Regions from separate parts of the Homo sapiens genome. Here region 1 is linked to region 2. Evidence: promoter capture Hi-C in 16 types of primary human blood cells and fetal thymus (Javierre and others, 2016). All regions are on one chromosome and are shown on one strand. Each heading gives the region's core, a stretch centred on a gene start or on the middle of the fragment in contact. The rest is flanking DNA. Distances are from core to core; before and after follow the strand shown.

Region 1 (6,409 bases), core at 2,786-5,285, 54 kb before region 2:
CCCTACACACCAAAGACACTAATTACAACCACCTTCCTTCGAGGCTTTTTTCTTTTTAGTTCACTATTTTCTTCCTTCTACTTTTCTATTCCTTCCACTCTTCAGGACCAACCAAGTTCCTTTGAAGAAGTAAGCACTTGCGGTCTCCACGCTCTTGTTTCATTCTAACACCTTCAACTAGAGCAGTCTAACTTGTCACCTACCACTTCATTGAAATTACCTTCTTAAGATTATGAGTGACTCAGTATTACACTCATTACATAATGTTCAAATCTCTGTTTAAATTGTTCTCTTCTCTAGATTTATTGACTATTATATATTTCTTGGCTATTTTGACATAGTTTTCAGCCATTTCATTTAGCTCTTGTGGATTCCAAGACCTAAACTCATTCTTCTTCTCTTCTTCTCCCTCTGTGAATCTACCCGTAAGTGATTTTACAGATATTACCTCTATACTGATTGCGTTAGAGTCTACATTTTTAATTGTGATCATTTCATGAGCTCTATATACCTATTTCCAACATTCTCATAGACATTTCCACTTGAAATTCATAGACATTTCATGCAAGGATGAAATTCTGATCTTTACTGCTCTGAACGCCTGCTATTGAAGCACTAAATTCAGGTTTTACTCTTCCACAGCTCCTTTGTAGATAATTTTACCAAAAGACACTCAAAGACTTAGGAGTCATCTTAGTCTCCATCTCATTCCACATCCATTAAATCATCAAGACTGGTAGTGTAAGAGTTGAAGAAGGAAGGAAGAAACACGAAAAGCTGCTCAACAGGTTTATTTTACAGAATAAACTTGACAGAGGCTTCTGGCCGAGTTAGGTCATGAGCCTTCTCTGTTACAGACTAAGGGTATTTAAGGGTTCAGGGGCTCATGAGGAGGGGATGCCTTATCCTCCTAGGGCCCGATGGTTCAGTTAGGACCAGATGTGCTGTCTGTATAGAGCAGAGTTTTCATCAGCTCTCACTCCATTCTCAGACCACATAGGCCAACTTTTAGTCTGTGTCTCTTTGTCTTGTTTATCTGGGAGGGAGAGGTTTTGTGTCTGTTCCCATACGTCTTTCTGCACCTGCAGGCATATCACCAAAGTCTGCGTTTAGCTTCCCTATCTTAGTGCACCTAAAAGGAAAGGAATGTGTTTATTAGGGCCCACTCCCTATCTTAGTGCACCTAAAGGAAAAGGAAATGTGTTTATTAGGGCCCACTGTTTTACTGGGGCCCATTGTATAAGTATGAAGTTTGGTAGTTACCCAAAAGACTTTCCCTCCTCCTTCTGTGCCAAGCTGCCTTATCCATGTTTTGCTGTCTGCTCTTTCTGGCTGTTTGTTGTTAGAAGAGAAGTGATTTCCTTGAAATGCATGAGGTTACAAAGGAAGCTGGAACTTAAAATGGCGGTGTTTGTCCAAGATGACAGTGCTCCTGCTCTGTCAGGTAGAAAATTTTTTCTTACAAACAAAATTTCAAATATCATAAGATGTTTGACTCTTCTTTATTATCAACTGCACAGTATATTCTTCAGCATACACAGCAACATTTGACATTTGCTTAATATCCTGAGCTATAATGTATATATTATACAATTCCAGCAAGTTTTGGTGTCTACCTCAAGATCAAGTAATGTGTGCTTCCTCTGTTCTTTTAGTATCTATTCTACTACTGAGAGTACTGGGTTTTTTTTTTTTTCCTTCTATTCCCTCATTACCACCTAAAGAGAGTACTGGTTTGTGGCCAGGCGCAGAGGCTCATGCCTGTAATCCCAGCACTTTGGGTGGCCAAGGCAGGCTGATCATGAGGTCAAGAGATCAAGACCATTCTGGCCAACAAGGTGAAACCCCGTCTCTACTAAAAATACAAAAATTAGCTGGGCATGGTGGCGTGCCCCTGTAGTCCCAGCTACTCGGGAAGTTGAGGCAGGGAATTGGCTTGAACCCGGGAGGCAGAGGTTGCAGTGAGCTGAGATTGTGCCACTGCACTCCAGCCTAGTGACAGATCAAGACTCCGTCTCAAAAAAAAAAAAAAAAAAAAAAAAAAAAAAAAAGAGAGAGAGAGAGAAAACTGGTTTTTAATTTCCCTGCTTAGTTTTTGTATATTCCCTAGGATGTGAGCTCTTCAGAATAGAGTCTACAGTTTATGGCTCAACATCTAACACAGTGATTGTAGCTTTGATTAACTGTGTTTCTTTGATAATTGAAAGCCACTAGAAGGTTTGGAAGTACTTGTTACTTTCAACAATATTATAACTGTAAAGAGATATAGAGGGAAAGCACTTTTACACCGATTGACTGAACTTGAATGGCTTCCTCTGAATGTTAGAATTCCCCAAACAGTAAGATACCACTGACTTAAGTTTTCTCACCTCCCGATGGTAAAACATGTACTACTTTATCCTTGGGATATTGTTGAGATATGAAGCCGCACTAACCTGAATTGTAATACACCGCTCTCTCATGAAAAAAAAGAACATATTTCAGTTTTCTCTTTCTCCGTGTGTATATTTTACTGGAAACAAGACAAGTTAAGTCTCCAAAAGGAAATCTAGGTGTTGCATATAGTAGAAAATCATAAGCTGGCAAAGGACACACCAAAGTCCAACCCTCCTTCCTTTCCTTTCCCGCCACATTTATTTTACAAATTTATCTTTTACAACCAATTCTATTTCAACAAATTTTTCCATGACAAAAAAAATTACAGAATATATAAATTAAAATGGTAGAGGAAATAAATCTGTGGTGCTATCTAGAATGCTGGTGAGGCTTGTATGTCTTTGGAAAAGAAGCTGATATGACCAAATGAAAGAAATATTCTTCCAGCTTAAATTATCAACCCCTTAGAATTTTAACACCACCAAAACAGAATGTCCACTGTAAAAAATGACTCTTCCCCTTGAGAATCAATTTTCTGTAAGTTAATAAAATGATAAACTGCTAAAACTGAAGTAACATGAAAAGTCACAGAATGCAAAGCACTGGATGAATAATGATGGTTCTAGTTCTGTTTTCTTTTTTTTTTTTTTTTATTATACTCTAAGTTTTAGGGTACATGTGCACATTGTGCAGGTTAGTTACATATGTATACATGTGCCATGCTGGTGCGCTGCACCCACTAACGTGTCATCTAGCATTAGGTATATCTCCCAATGCTATTCTACTACTTAGAATGCACAGGTGTCCAATACACACTCTACTTTTAAGAACCTACCTTCCTAAAAAACTTGTTGCTCTGGTTGTCCTGAAATAAGAGATCGTAGGCATGCATGTCTTATGTATTAAAAAGTTAAAATGAAACAATGGAGTCTGGAGATAACGTTTTGTGAGTTAACACTAGAGTTAGCAAACTCATATGTTCTCAATGAAAGTAACAAGAATGAATAAAGTAGTATCATTTGGTGTGAAGGTATCAGTACTTATAAAGGTGATGGCCACTGTTCATCTACAAAAAAAAAAAAAAAGGCTGGTCTAATGATACCAGGTTTTCAGAAATTATTTTCATAGAAGAAATCTAAACATATATTAATCTAAAATCTTCCATATTTAAATATTAATTCATTCTGTTACAACATTGTGCAGGCAAAGCAAAAGAAGTCTGTTGTCTTGCCTGCAGGCAGCCAATTGCTACCTCTGGTTTACAAAAGTCCTTTCTGCTCTCCTTGAACAAGAAAACATTTTGTGTTGTATTTTTAATATAAGATATTAATTCATTAAATAGCTTAGCTTTTCACATTATACTATTTTGTAATGTTTGGTAGTTCTTCATTCATGGTCCACTTCTCTCCAATTGAACTCCATTCTCCTTAAAGGTAGACAAGAGTTTATATTTCTTTTTTTTTCTTTCTTAGAAATAAATTCACAGTAGATATTTAGTGTCTCCTTGTTGATGAGGTGATACAAGTACCCTGAGCAGCTCAGCTTTCTGGATCTTATAAGTCCATTGAACACATAACACAACTGGCAAAGATATTTCAAAAAATGTGCTGCTAAAAACGTAACTTAGTCTATCATTTTACTATTAAATCAAAAGCAAAAACAGTAAACAAACTCCTTTCTAGAAGCTCCACTTCTATGTTTCATATTAAAAACTCTGAATTGTGTTAAATGGCAGGCTTAAGCATTTGTTTAAATCAATTTCATTCATTCATTCAACAGATATTTAATGAATTCCTTTTAAATGTCAGTCTTCAAGTTTCTGCTGATGAAGCAGTTAATAAAGCAAAGATCTTACCTTCATATCTAGTAAATTTTTGTAAGGAATTTTGCAACTAATATGCTTATCACAGGATTTATTTTTTCTTGTCTTTATGTTAATCTTGGAAAATACTCAATGTTAAAGATGTAGTTTTTGATTTATTATCTGTTCTTCAGTGAACATAAGAAGACCTCTTACATATTTTAAGTAATTATAGTAATTATACCCAATAATTAAATAATCAAGAAAGATCCATTCTATTTTGTCTAAATGAGTCAAAGGGAATTGAAAGTAATGGTCTATCTGGCAGAGTTGTGTGTAATTATTTTCCATTAATATTTGCAATAGACCAGAACTTAGGCTTGGAAAAACACAATGCTATGGGGGACATTACAGAAGAAACTAGAAACTAAGTAGGCTTGTATAATATTGTACTAAGTAGCATTTTATTGTTGTTATATAAGAAAATAACATATTGTTATTGCCCTTAGTGCAGCTAGCATGGAGATTCAGACCTTCAGGAATAAACCCTGATGGGGTGATCTCTGACTGATGTTAACATTTTGCTCTCAGCAACACATCCTTGCAAACAAAACAGCATATAATTGCTGTGACCTTGGGGAAACATCAGTTTCCTAAAGATAAATTGACCAACACATATAAAAGGCATGCAATTTCAAACTAATCAAACATACAACAGCTTAAATAACTGGCATTCAGGAAATGAGCATACTTTAAAAAGAATGCAGAATCATGTCCTCATCTTAAATTCCTTTCACAGACATTGCAAAGGATGGTTATTGCTTGCACAAGTACTTTGGTATTTTTTCCTCAAGCCGCTCAGAGGCTTCAGGCCTCCCAGTGAAGCAGAAAGCTCTAATATGGTTCCTTCTGATCTTGCCCTTCCAAGATTGTGTCTGGGTGAACATGGGAAAGAGGTAACAGGAGATCTATACTAGAACCAGGGCTTCTGAGAAAGCCTGATGGATGAACAGCAATTAGTAGAATTACCTGCAAGGCAGGACTCAAGCAGCAGTGGGTAACTATTTGATCCCTGGTTCAGTCGTTGCTTTTCCCTATGTTACAGCTTCCACTGGCACACTCTTGCTCCATAGAGTGCCTTCCTTTTTCTAGACAACCAGACCACACCTTTGCAAACATAATAGTGAGGAGGTAAACTTGACAAAACAATTCTTTGTTTTTTTTTTCTTGATATGGATAAATTTACACAAGTAGATGTTCTTTAGTTCATATAGAATAAGATAGTTCTTGAAAAAGAAAGGCACCAAAGTAGAAATAAATTTGTTTAGAATATGACTTTTTACTTTTTAATCTCCAGTTACCATGAAGAATAATGCACATGCTGAGAAATTTAGTGATTATTTTGTATCTCTGCCAGTTAACAACCATCTCAAGGAATAATTTTCTCCTCAGGGTCAGAAAGCAGATCTTGAGTTTAACAGGCTATAACAGGGAGACAGCAAAAGAGAAACCTGTAGAAATAGGTCCTGTTTCCAAGGATTCTGTGTTTATAACAGTCAAAAGACTCAAAAGAAATTATATTTGGAAAAGCCCTGGAAACCATCTACATCAGCTTTCTCAAATTGCAGTGAGAGAACATCTTTTAGCCTTTCGGTGAAAACTAATTGTGAAGGCTCTTTATTGTATTACTGCTCATAATTGCATTGTGGCCAGCTTTATGCATCAGAAAATTCTATGCAAAATCGTCTTCTTTGCAAATTCCACTCATGATTTATAGTTCTGCCTTTTAGAGCCATGTGGGGAAGCAAGCAGGTTTATATGGTTTGGCTGTGTCCCCACCCAAATCTCATCTTGAATTGTAGTTCCCATAATCCCCACATGTCGTGGGAGGGACGCAGTGGGAAGTAATTTAATCATGGGGGCAGTTACCCTCATGCTGTCATCCTGATAGTGAATGAGTTCTCACAAGATCTAATGGTTCGACAATGGGGCTTTCTCCTCTTTTGCTTGGCAATTCTCCTTTCTGCTTCCATGTGAAGAAGGACACATTTGCTTCCCTTTTTGCCAGAGTTGTAAGTTTCCTGAGGTCTCCCCAGCTATGCTAAACTGTGAGTCAATTAAACTTCTTTTCTTTATAAATTATCCAGTCTCATATATATATTTTTATTAGCAGCGTGATAATGGACTAATACACAGGTTATGTCTCCATATACAAGACCAATATATTCCACA
Region 2 (5,995 bases), core at 3,451-5,950:
ACTAATATTAAATAAATTAAACCAAAGAAACTTTCTTGAAATCCACCTCATTCAAAAAAGCACAGGAAAATTAATTTCACATGAAAAATAATAGAAATGTACAAAGGTCAAATTCTATGCAATGTTATAATAAGAGAATAAGGAACATAACTATATGAATGCACACATACACAAAATATAAATCTGAAACCTAGCCTCATTTTAGTTGGCCTTACTTTCTCCTAATGCTAAGGAAAAGAAGACAAGGATTCCAATTATTAATTTACTGTACTCAAGTTGTAAACCAATGATATTAGGCTAGAAAATAAAGATATGATAACTGAAAAAGAGTTGTTAAAATTAATAATATTTATATGAATCTATCTTTTGAGAAATATAGGAAAATTAATTTTAAAACTATGATAAATTTGTTGAACAATAACAGTATTAATGGAATTCAGGTAACAGGGTATAATATTCATTTACAAAAATTGTATATGCATATTATATATATATGTTTAAAGATGACCATGATTATTATGATCAACTGATACATCACTTCCTGCCATAAACAGCTTGAAAACTGTAAAAATACAAAATACACTGGTTTTTACCACTGAAAATAAGCATAGAGAGGCATAGAGAACTGTGATCCATAACAGAAGAGAGACAGAGAAAGTAAGCCCTGCCTTCCTTTAAAAAGACTGCAGTGCAGAGAAGGAACATAAATCTCAAATTTAGAATTTAGAAATTGAGAAGTTTATAGGGGTACTCCTTAAATAGAGCGAAAACACTAATTTGAGTTGAGGAAATAGTGATCTAAATTCAAGGAGATTGAGAAGACTGAAATTTACAAGACAAAGTACTAGAAAAAGTCTAAAAATACTATATAAGAGTACTTTTGAGTCTAGCTGAATACCAAGCAGCTCAGATGAAAAACAAAACTGCATGAGTACTGACAAAGGATTCCCACCAGGGATGTGGGTTAATTTACAGAGATTATACCGGGTTCAGGTACTTTTAAGCTCTTATCATCTAAAGCAGAAAAGCCTTATCGAACACCCTGGGAATGCATTAGAGATTTAAGAATCATTATACCTTAGTAATTAAAACTACCCTAGATCCAGTATAACAAATTTAAACACAGGTCTTTAAGACGGAGGTGATACACAATTGATTGTTGGCTAAGACCAACTTCATCATCATTAAATGGAGAATGAAAGAATCCTGAATATTTACATCATAAAATTCAAAATGCCCAACATCCAATAAAAAGTTACTAGAGATCTGAAGAAGCAGGAAAATACGCCATCATTAGCAGAAAAATCAGTCAATAATAGCAGACCCAGAATTACAGAGATGCATTTTCAGAACAGGCTTCAAAACAGCTATTATAAATATTTTTAAGTATTTGAATATAAAACCAACAAGAATATAATAAGGAAGGAAATGCAAACTATAAAAATGGAACTTATGTAGCTGAAATGAATATTTTACTATACAAGTTTAACAGCAGACTAGCTATTGGAGAAGAAGAGGTTAATGAACTTGAAGACACAGCAATTGAAGCAGTCTAACCTGAGAAAGGGACAGAAAAGAGGCCAAAAAAATGGAATAGTTCCTTAATGACCAGTGGAACCGTGTTAAGGAGTCAAACATACTGTAATTGGAATATCTGAAGATAGGAGAAAGAGAAACAAAAAAATGGAGAACTAGTGCCTAAAAGTTTTCAACTTTGATAAAAACTAAAGCCCACAAGACCAGGAAGCTCAACAAATTTCAAGTAGAACAAACACCATTTATATCTTAATCAAAGTTTTAAAACTAGTTATAAAAACGTTTGAAAAGTAGTCACAGGAGAAGAAAGACATATTAGAACATAGAAAACTGGCACTGATTTCTCAACAGAAATAATGGAGTTCAGAAGACAAAAGTGTAAAATCTTTTAAAGTCCTAAAGAAAAGAAAAATCATCCTATAATTCTTTCTGGTGAAAATATTCTCCAACGGAAGATGGGGAAAAAGACACTTTTTTCATATGTTATATATTTGAAAATTGTTCATAAAATCATATATTTTGTTTTCTCACCATAAAACAATAAGCACGTGAGATAATACATATGTTAAATTGCTTGATTTAGCCGTTTCATAATATAAACAAAAAAAAATTTTTCTCAGAAAATCAGTACTTGAATATATTTATTGTTAGCAGATATGCACTACAGAAAATATTGAAGACAGGTCTTTATGCTAATGGAAAAGGATTCCAGGCCTGCACAAAGGAGTGAAGAGAGCTAGAAAAGGGAAACACGTGGGTATATATATATACACACACACACACACATATATATATAAATCCTTATCATTAAAAGTATACATATTTAAATAATAACTGACCATGCCCAAAAGAATGATATTTAACTGATGTCACCTTCAGAATCCACCTTTTTCTTCCTCTCTGGTTCCAGCTCCTAACTGACCACATACGCAGAGTAGAGCCAAACCTCTCTTTTCCAATTCTGTTTCAGAACTTTACACAGACCTGTGGAGTAGTTCACTTATGCCCATATTTTCTTTTCTTTTTCTTTTTATTTTTTTGTGAGGGGGATGGAGTCTTACTCTGTCGCCCAGGCTGGAGTGCAGTGGCATGATCTCGGCTCACTGCAACCTCTGACTCCCGGGTTGAAGCAATTCTCTGCCTCAGCCTCCCCAGTAGCTGGGATTACAGGCACCTGCCTCCACGCCTGGATAATTTTTGTATTTTTAGTAGAGATGGGGTTTCACCATCTTGGCCAGGCTGGTCTTGAACTTCTGACCTCATGATCCACCTGCCTCAGCCTCCCAAAGTGCTGGGATTACAGGTATGAGCCACCGTGCCCGGCAACTTGTGCCCGTATTTTCACAATTTCTTTTTCCACGGTTCTATCAGCATTGTGTATAGCACACTTCACACATAAATTTAACATATCTTATGAAAAATAATATATTGATTTTATGTCTTTAACTTCTCTGAGTTAACAGTTAAGTTATAGTCCTAGTGACTGGATGATGTCCATGCTCCTATGATTTTCTCTTGTGCTCATTCACCTTCATAGGATTAAACTGATATAAACACAGTGGATACTAATCATTACTAGGGGACAGCAGGGTGGAAGCATAATCTGCATTATCAGTATCCATTTCCAGCAGAAGCTCAATGCAAAATGCCATCATACATAATATTTTTCAATTCTCAGCCAAGGTGAGAGATTTAAAATATGTTCAAAGTACAAGTCATGGAATCAGGGGGTATATGTATAAATATATACTAGAAAGTCTTTAATTTCATATAGATAAATGTTTTGAGCTTTTAGCTGGTATCCCTGATAAATTGTCTTGGTAAAAAAATAATTCAAAAAGACTGAAAATAAAATTTTCTTTTAGGTTTGTATAACTCAGCTTTCAATATATACCATTTTAGATTAAAGCATTCACTACTGGAGATCAAAGATTCTTGGAAGGACTAAAGCACATAGTAGGTGATCAAAGGCTCTGATAATTCCAGATTTTCCACTGGCCTGTCTCTGAAACTTTGTAGGATTAAATTACCTAATGCCTGTGAACTTTGGTTTATTTTTCAATAAAATTTGAATTATGGACTAGAACTGCATTTGTAAGACTTTTGTATTCTATAAAACAGTGAAAGAAGTGGAGGCTAAACCAATTGGAGTTGTCAACATTTTTTTTAATAAAGGCATTAAAATATAAAAACTACCATCTCTACTTAATCCATGTCATTATAAAGAACATTTTTACATTATAAAGAACATTTTAACAACAAAAGAGTCAGGAGAGCAAATTCAAAATAGCAAGTCCTTTATATCAAAGGAATTAAAATAAAGCTTTAAGAAAAAAAACTTTTCATATTTTTTTCCATTTCATCACAGACTGATAAAAATTTCAAAAATGTCTAAAATCATTCTATAGATATGTGCTTAAAACTTTATTTATTTATTTGAGACAGAGTCTTGCTCCGTTGCCCAGGCTGAAGTGAAGTAGCCGGCATGATCTCAGCTCACTGCAACCTCCGACTCCCAGGTTCAAGGGATTCTCCTGGCTCTGCCTCCTGAGTAGCTGGGACTGTAGGTGCACACCACCGTGCCTGGGTAATTTTTTGTATTTTTAGTAGAGATGGGGTCTCACCATGTTGCCCAGGCTGGTCTTGAACTCCTGAGCTCAGGTAATCTGCCCACCTTAGCCTCCAGATTACAGGCATGAGTTACTGTGCCCAGCCCAAAACTGTTAAATTAAATGCTTTCTACAATCTTTTTTTAACCATAAAATTCTGATCTATTGTCTTATTTTGTTACAATATGTTAAGCCAATGTAATTAACATTACATAATCTTATGTCAGTTAAATGTGATTTACTTAACTCATGTAATAACAATAAGAAAAATACTTTTTTAAGAACTGGAGAAAATATCTCCTAATGTTTGATATAATACTTTGCCATAACACATTTTAACACACAGTCCACACATTTAAAAACTTTTTGAAAAGTTCCTGTGGGAAATGACAGTGTTATTTGAGTCTATTAAAGCATCATTCTGGTTGCGCAAACTTGAACGAGAAGTTGCACTGTGGTAAGACTAGTCTTTATCTTAGAGACCAAGAGTCATTTTGCAAATTTGTGGTATCATTTCCCTAAACAACTTAGGACCAAATTGTACTTCATTTCCTCAGTTCTGCATTTCTGCAGAGACAGAAAGAAACGCAGCTCTTGACTTCTTTTTTGTAAACATTACTGTAAGAGTTGTGATAACTTTTTATTCTACTATGTATATGTATGGAATAGTATTAATAAATGAACTAGGGAAGGATGTAATAAATTAGACATCTCTTCATTTTAGAGAGAAGATGGAAACAACATTGCTTTTCTTTTCTCAAATAAATATGTGTGAATCAAAAGAAAAAACTTTTTTCAAGTTAATACATGGTTCAGGAAAAGAAGAAACAAGCAAAGAAGCCAAAATCAGGTAAAATTGTACAATTTTAAGTCAGCCTTATACTTTTAAAAGCATAATTGAGGTTGAAGATTCATTACCTCTTGTTTTTGAACTATTGGGTGGAAAATATATTGTTTGTATTGCTATAATTTGGGAAAAAAAAACACCTTTTTATTTCTTAGGTTTAAACAACAAACTGAAATCTAAAGTGTTCTCATTAAAAAAAAAGTGTAATAATGTTAGCCACATAGAGGAACTAGTGCAATCTTTATTGAAATATAATCTCAAATACTTGATTGTCGGTGAGCAAAAGGAGAAACATTTTCGTATGTTACCCTAATTCCTCCACAAATACAATATTTAAATGGGATTCATGAGTGTGTGGGTATGGGTGGGCGTGGGTTTTTACCAACTACAAAATTTTCTGGTAGTCAGCAGGAGAGATTTTAACTGTCATCTAAATTGTCCTGACATGAAGGCCTTTTTATTACAGAGCTAAGGAAAAAAGAAATAGACTAAGTCTTCTTGTGCAGAAACCTGAGTTTCATGAAGACACCCGCTCCAGTAGATCTGGGCACTTGGCCAAAGAAACAAGGTGAATAAATTTTCAGTATTTTGAGGAAGATTTTGCTGATTCTATCATTAAAGATTTAAGAAAAATGCAGTTAGGGATTTCTGATTTATTGAAAATTACACAGCAATATAAGGAAAGTTAGAAATTTCATTTGAAGAGACTAGAAATATTTCATAAAATTAAATCACTTGAATTAAATCGCTTGAATTGAATAATCACGTGAACACTTAAAGCTGCTCTTTTAAAATTATATACCTGTCAGTTTTAAATGACATGTTTTACTCCTTATAACCTGATAAAATGCTCATTAATTTAAGAGTTTTCACAATGCAATATTGTCATAGCAGAGAGATATTCATCTCTTTCTTCAGTAGTTTGAAAAAACACACGCATTATAGCAAGTAAAGCACAAATAATGTCTTTTAATACTTAGCATTTATTTAATTCAAAAAGAAA

The links. The method cuts DNA at HindIII sites, captures the fragments that hold promoters and counts their contacts. A CHiCAGO score of 5 or more calls a contact.
Region 1: a fragment that was not itself captured here is called in contact with the fragment with the promoter of RGS18 in region 2 in 1 of 17 cell types (megakaryocytes); the score reaches 6.4 in megakaryocytes.

The regions. Positions count from the first base shown.
Region 1 is chr1:192,100,134-192,106,542 of GRCh38, forward strand. LOC105371661 (a long non-coding RNA gene) reads left to right here and starts at 6,116. Exons shown (of 3, transcript XR_001737813.2): 1 at 6,116-6,285. The HindIII fragment of the contact is 8,331 bases long and covers 1-6,409 here.
Region 2 is chr1:192,153,762-192,159,756 of GRCh38, forward strand. RGS18 (regulator of G protein signaling 18) reads left to right here and starts at 4,701. Exons shown (of 5, transcript NM_130782.3): 1 at 4,701-4,995; 2 at 5,459-5,560. The coding sequence starts at 4,877. The HindIII fragment of the contact is 5,451 bases long and covers 3,858-5,995 here.